Linked DNA regions of Homo sapiens: region 1 is linked to region 2. The links are contacts of gene promoters, found by promoter capture Hi-C in human tissues and cell types (Jung and others, 2019). All regions are on one chromosome and are shown on one strand. The core of a region is centred on a gene start or on the middle of the fragment in contact, and the rest is flanking DNA. Distances in the headings are between cores, read along the strand shown.

What was found. Contacts are between HindIII fragments. The study calls those that stand out against the background at their distance.
Region 1: a contact is called between a fragment that was not itself captured here and the fragment with the promoter of OAZ2 in region 2, in 1 of the 25 tissues and cell types used here (aorta).

What each region holds. Positions count from the first base shown.
Region 1 is chr15:63,507,471-63,511,214 of GRCh38, reverse strand. The region is part of intron 1 of USP3 (ubiquitin specific peptidase 3); the gene reads right to left. Among named protein-coding and RNA genes, the nearest start is that of USP3, 4.8 kb to the right of the region's middle. The HindIII fragment of the contact is 3,184 bases long and covers 251-3,434 here.
Region 2 is chr15:64,701,226-64,704,899 of GRCh38, reverse strand. OAZ2 (ornithine decarboxylase antizyme 2) reads left to right here and starts at 1,619. Exons shown (of 5, transcript NM_002537.3): 1 at 1,619-1,871. The coding sequence starts at 1,852. LOC124903507 (a long non-coding RNA gene) reads right to left here and starts at 357. Exons shown (of 3, transcript XR_007064679.1): 1 at 268-357. RefSeq lists silencers at 1,484-1,803, 1,814-2,033 and an enhancer at 3,662-3,674. The HindIII fragment of the contact is 8,869 bases long and covers 1-3,674 here.

The sequences.
Region 1 (3,744 bases), core at 593-3,092, 1.2 Mb after region 2:
ATCTTTAATACTCCCCAAGCATCTTGGGCAACTCGTAACCTTTGTCTCAGTTTCATAATCAATAAAATAGGAAAAACTACAAGGATGAATAATTAATTAAATTAGTCAGGATTAAATGCTAGCAAACTGCTTTGAAGTTACTTTATGTTGTTCTCAGTTATCTTCCTACTCAGTAAAACTAATAGATGAGAAAACATCTGGAATTACTATAGATAATCACATCTGCAGACTCACAGCAGTTAAAAAGACGATCTCTACAAATTTCTAAGCCAAAGTTCATTCAACGACCCCAAAGATTTTAAGATACAACCACAATGAACAATTTTAGGTGAATTTCTTTTCAGTCTCAAGGACACCTATTCTTACCTACATTCTCAAAAGAAACCACTACACAGAAATCTCAGAGCATCTTGAGGGGTCTTGGCACAAGACAATTCTAGGTAAGATGAACAAGCTGTTACTGTTGTTAATGCTATTCTCAGCATTCTAAACTGTCAATCAAGGTAAGCTTAATCACAAACACACCCTCCAAAAAGTACTAGCCCCTACTGAGAACCCATCAAAGTACTTCCTTCCAAGCCATCTGTCCAGGAAAGCTCTATTAACACACCTAGAATGCAATTGCTCTCCTGTCTAAAGAGGCAATGAATAAACATAAAATATCAAAATATGTTAAACAGCATACCTTTTCCACTTCAAACAATGATAATCTACCGACTAAATCTATTTATTTCAATGCCTTGGTTGAACACAAACCTGTATGTATGTAGGTCAGAGACTGCAGCTTAATCAAAGGAGACTAACATTTTGTTTTCAAAGAAGGAAAAATATTAAAAACAAACAAACAAGCTCAAGAAGGGGAGAAAAGCTCAAAAAGAAAAAAAACGAGCAGGTTAGGTTAGGGGAAATGTACATGTTAATCAGCTCCTGATGGAAGAGGGACTCAAATTTTAAAACAGGAATTTAAATGACTCACTGAGCTACACACTAAATTACTCACTGGTCTACTCACTGAGCTGCAAACACTATAAAAACATAAGTATTTCTAAATCTAGCTTGAAGGATCCAAAATCAATCTTTTATATTCCAGTGGAGAAGGAAATTACATACATTTCAATGAGGAAAAAGGAGGCTGTTACACGAGCCTAAGGCTAATGGTGTACAAGCAAAGAATGAGAATAAATTATTTTGAGGATAAATAACAGGAAACCACACCAAAGAGTTCGAATTCTTCCCCCAACTCCATCATTTCTTCTGCTTAGACCATGAAGGATGTTCTGTATACACTATTAAGCATATTATTAGGGAAAGAACTTCTCATCAATGTGTCAAAACTTCTTCACAACAAGTAAATGTTAGGCTCAATCTCTATACTGAAGCTTCTTTAAACAAAACACATACATGGAGCACATTCTAAATTTCACACATTTCACATCCATGAGCAATCATTTAGAGACTCTAGAAATAAGCTGAGATTGCTCTAAGATTCTGGGGGACGGGGTTGGGGAGGAATACTGCAGAAAGACTAGAAAGACATTTGACTTAAGCTTTATAAATATTACCAAAAAAGTTTAAATTCTTCAGAAGGATATATAAAACTCAAATACTACTTTTTAGAATTAATGTGAAAAAAGTATCACCTGTCCACTGATTTTTAACTACCCCATCCACATTTACAACTAAATTGTCCACCTGCCCATCTATAAATACAGACTGCCAAAAGAACACAAATTCATTGTGATAACAACACTGCAGATGGTCATTTGCTCACAATCCAGCCAACGTTTACTGACTAAAATACTGGGAGTGCGGGCTAGTGAAAGCATTCTGGGGAAAGTTCACTCTGCGTTTATTTTCAACATAAAGACCCTGCCAGACACATCTAAGTGATAGTTCCTTTATTTATCAGGCAAATATTTACTAATTGCTCTATTAAGTATTAGGCACTTAATAAAGACATCATAGAATGTTACTAAAAAGCAGTAAAAGCATTTGACCTAATGACAAGGAAATGACTGATTGTATTTAGAAAATTTAGTCCACTGGGCAAACGAGTGTTAAATGTAGGTTGTGGAGAAATACGATACAAAATAACCCATCACTCCATCAAGGTTGATTTCTTCTCTTTATCACAACCTGATCAGTCCATTACAAATTTATTACCACTGACAACCAATAATCAACACCTCATCCTACTGAATGGATCTCTTAAAAAAGGGTTTATCTCCAGTATTTTGGGTGGAATTATCTGCAGTTTTTGGTGCAAAATTGCAGAACATTTACTTGATCTACACTTACTTTTCTTGGGTAGAGTAATATGAAGGCAAGTGTGTACTGAAAACTTAAAGAGGCACTCTCAACTCATTGAAGAATTAATCAGGGAAAAATTAGCATGCCTATCCTACTAAATATCTCTAATTTAACTGGCTGTTTAACCCAAACCCTCAAGTTCAAATGCTTGGTCCTTGGCTTTCCTTAGTTATCAAAACACTTGCATTCAGGGCATCTTTTTAAACAATTTTTGTTTTTTCCCACTGGTTAAACTCTTTTACCCACAAAAATAAGGAATGCCCAAGCCTCCAACTTCTGAAAATAACATCTGGTATGTGCACATAACAAAAAGCTTGAGAGAATGCCCTTTTATTTAAAACTTTTTCATTTTAAACTAGAATCCCTTAAGCAACAATTAGACATAAATCAGCCTTTACGTTATTAGGAGATAGCTATTTTCAACATTTACCTTAAACCACATGGATGTATCTTCTAACTAGTTAGCTTCCTGTCTCTCCCCCAGCTAGATTAGACTGTTAACTTTTTTGGCAGCAAAGGACTACTAGAGCCCATGCTCTATTTCCCAGCTAATACATTTCAAAAACCTCAGGTCTCTACAGAAACATAAACGTTGGTAGCCTTAAGGATTTCTCTAATTTTTTAAAGTTATTTTGATATGAGCAGGTATCCTTAACTGTTAACTATAGCTTACACAAGTGGGTTCTCAAAGTGTGGTCCTGGACCCCTGAAAGTTTCCAGGACCCATTCAGGGGATCCAGAAGGTCAAAACAATTTTCATACATAATATTTAAGATGTTACTTTTGTTTACAGTCATTCTCTCACAAGCATGCAGTGGGGTGTTCCTGAGGCTGCATGATGTGACATCTCAAGAGACTGAATGCAGAAGCAATGTAAGAATCCAGCTGTCTTCTATAAAGCTGAACAAAGAGTTACAAAAAGGCAAAATAATGCCATTCTTCCCACTAAATTTTTGTTTTGAAAAACATTTTACATAAACTGTCAATTTATGTTATGGGTGTGGGTCTATTATTATTTGTAAGCATATTAATAAATACATATTTTAAGTTTTTCTCAGTTTTAATTTCTAATAAACATCATCAACAGATATAAGCTACACGAAGGCTCTTCAGGTGCTCAACAATTTTTAAGAGTGTAAAGGGGTCCTAAGATCAAAAAGTGTAAGAACCACTGTCATACACAATTATATAACCCAACACACAGTGCCTTCCATGGATAAGAAGCTCATGCTAATTCTGAAGTATAATTACTTCTTACTTCTTGTAATCTTGTTGAGTTCTGTATCTCCCTGTAAAGCATCATTCAGCATAAAGCCAGTCTGTTCTAGTCCCCATTTAATGGGCTTTGGATATTTAATTATTCAGAGTCCTCTTTACAAAGATGTTCTGACCTCTAATACCACCTATTACTAGAACAGTGTATACAAGTTTCTC
Region 2 (3,674 bases), core at 370-2,869:
GTGTTGAAAAAGCCTTAGCTTGGTAGCTCCAGCCTTCCTTCTGTGCCTCCATCCCCATCATCCAAAACCCAAAAGCATGCTGTTTGTGAAGGAGAGTAACCATATCCTGAGATGACTCCAATGTGAGATGTTTGTGAACTGAAAGTCATAGTGACCGCCGATCTGGAGTGTCACCCTTTCTCTGAGTTATCACTCTTTCTGCAAAGCTGTCCCTAATTCCCTAAATTACTTTCTCTGTGGCATTCCTCAGATTGAGCACTTACTTACCTGGTATTGTGATGACCTGTGTCTCTCCCCTTGACCGGATTGTGACATCCAAGGCAGGAACCTTGCCTGGTTGATTATGGCGTATTCTTGGACTCTAGCACATGCCTGGAGCATACAGTAAGTAGCTATTCAATAATTATTTGTTGGCCGGGTGCGGTGGCTCATGCCTGTAATCCCAGTACTTTTGGAGGCCGAGGCAGGTGGATCACCTGAAGTCAGGAGTTCAAGACCAGCTTGGGCAACATGGTGAAACCTCGTCTCTACTAAAAATACAAAAATTAGCCGGGCATGGTGGTACATGTCTGTAATCCCAGCTACTCAGGAGGCTGAGGCAGGAGAATCGCTTGAACCCGGGAGGTGGAGGTTGCAGTGAGCTGAGATTGTGCCACTGCACTCCAGCCTGGGCCACAGAGAGAGACTCCATCTCAAAAATAAGTAAATAAATAAAATAATTATTTGTTGAATAACTGAATGGATGTAATCTGAGGTGACAGAGTGACCCACTGTGATCTGAGATAATGTGACCTCTCTTGATTGCAATCTGGGTTGACTGTGAACAGAGTCGGGGCTTTTGATGATTGTGTTGAAGTGTCTGTGATTGTAACCTACAAGGACTGTGATCTGAGGGGTCTGCGCACCGGTGACTGTGGCCTTCAGGCACTAATCTGTCATAAGGACCAGTAGGGATAATGAATGGAGGTGACTGAACTAGTAACCTTGCATGATCGATTGAAGTAACTTGCACTGATTGTGATCTGAAGTGACCGTGAACAAGTTAGTGACGACGCTTTCCACGACTGTCTTGTTGTGACTGTGCTCATGATCTACAGAGTTCTGGCTTCAGATGACCTAAGCCAGTGCTTGGAGCAGCCTTGACGATTGACATGAGATGTGTGCGAGATGCTGAGATTGTTGATCTACCCTGACAGCTGAGGTTATTGATCTGCATTATGAGCTGAGATAACAGATCTGTGGGCCTGGACTCAGACTAGGAATGGTGCTAATATGTGTGTAGTTCTCTTAAGATTTCTGATTTTGTTTTAATATCCTCCCAAATGGCACAGCCCTGTTCGGCCCCACGCCAACAAGGAATAGGGATGAGGACCAGGTTGAGTCAATCCTCACAGAAAACTACCGGAAACACAACGCATCTTCTGGGCCGCGCTGCCGCAGCTGCGGGCAGACCCACCGCCTTGGTCATGGCCTCCTGCACAGCCTGCCCTTCGTTCGGACCCCCTAGCCCTACCCCCACGATCGGTCCGTGGTGCGCCTGCGCGGAGGCGGGGCGGTGCTTTGCCCTTTGTTGTGGGCCCCAGTTTCCCAGGACACCGCGCGGCGCTGGGGTGGGGCTATGCAGATGAGGCACTCGGGGGCGGGGCGGCGGCGGCGGCGGCGGCGGTGGCGGCCGGGGAGGGTCAGTTGGAGGCAGGCGCTCGCTGAGGCAAAAGGAGGCGCTCGGCCCGCGGCCTGACAGGGACTTAGCCCGCAGAGATCGACCCCGCGCGCGTGACCCCACACCCACCCACTCATCCATCTATCCACTCCCTGCGCCGCCTCCTCCCACCCTGAGCAGAGCCGCCGAGGATGATAAACACCCAGGACAGGTAACGGCCCGGCCCAGGCTCCCCGCCCCCATCCTCCCTCATCTGCTCCAGAGGGCCTCTCACGTACCCCTAGCCGGCCCCCGCCCCCCGCAGCGGGGCCATCCGCCCCCAGCCAGGTCCGTTCACCACTTCAGCCACCCTAGTCCGGTCCTCAGCCCTGCAACTGGGCCTTCTTCTGTCCTTTAGCCCCCTCTTCAGCCGGGCCCATCCCCCTCATCCGGGCCTTCTCCTCCCCTAAAGCCCCCAAAAGCCGGAACCCAACCTTCCAAGCAAGTCCCCTTTTTTCTTTCAGCCCCACCGAATTGTGCCCCATTCCCCAAACTGGGCTTTCCCCGGCATCCAGATTCCCCAAATTGTTTCCTGTCTTCCTCAAATCTTTCTTACTCCCCTTATAAGTCACTTCACCCTTCCCTTTGAATTCCCTCCCTGATGAAAACTGCACCCCCCACCCAGACTCTTCTCATATCACTGCCCCCCGCAAAGTCAACCTCCATCCTTCAGTTCTCAGTTTACCCCCACTCATCACCCTCCCCCCATTCTCTTCAGGCCTAGCAGTCCTTACACAGATGTCCAGCCTCTTCCTCCTGGTCCCATACTTCAGCTTCATCTTTCCCCCACCTTCCCCTCTCCACACCCCTCTCCCAGTTAGGCCCCATTTTCCCAGTCTCCCAGCGCCATTCCTTTTATTTATCAAACACCAGGTTTGATTCTTGTGCTCCATCCTGTTGCCCCAATGGTATACCCCCAACACTCTTGGAAACATTCTTACCCTCTAAACATCTTTTCTCAGCTGGAACTCATCCTTCTCCTTCCCCTCTTAACTGAATCCCGTCTTTGGATCATTAGATCACAGGACCCAGCCATCTCGCTTCCAGTGAACCTTCCCCCTGTACCTCCAGTGCCTTCAAACCAAGCTCTATATTCTGGACACTAGATCTTTGCAATTTCCTCCCTCAAAACCCGACCCTAGTCTTCCCCCATTAATTAGAGAAAGGCTGCACATCTTTCTCAGACCGAGCACCCTGGTTTTCCAAACTTGCATGGTATATCCTTCCCCCTGCAGATAGTTCCTCAATTTTCCTTTCTCTACATGCCTCTCTTTCTCCAAGACAACCCTTCTCACCTATCTCTCCCTCAAATTTTAATATATCCCATATTTCTGCCTCTGTTCTCTGAAACTGTTCCACAATTTCCTAATTCCCCGGAATTTTTAATCCTAGTTGCTCCTTATACATCAGAATGGCTTTCATTTACAATTTGGACCTAATTCTCTTCCTCATTTTTTCCCCAAACTTGTTGCTGTCCTGTCCAAACCGTGTCTGAAGCTCATTAGTTCCCCACACCAGACCTTTTGTCCCCAGATTTGGCCTTATGGCCTCTGCCTCTCACTTGGGCCTCATTATTTTGCAAGCAGATCCATTCCCTGTAAATCTTCCTTAAATTGGGCCATGTTCTATTCAGAATTAGACTAGTTCCTCTCAAATGCATTGCCTTCTTTATTGCTTTTCTTTGCATAGAGCCCTCTAACTGCCACTCAGGATTCCTCTCAAACTTGGGCACTCTTCTTACTGAAATAGTCTCTCAACTTTCCTTTCCCACTTGTTAACAGCACCAGCCTTAAATATTCCAACTGGGTTTTCAGCTTTTCTTGTATTTCAGTGTTTCTTACCCTGGCTTCACATTTGAGAAATCAGTCACTTGGGCCTTACCTTCAAAGATTGGTCTCATTGGCCTAGAGTGTCCTGATTATTAGCATATAGTTTTAAAGCTCCCCAGGTAATTCTTTATAATGCAAAGCTGGGG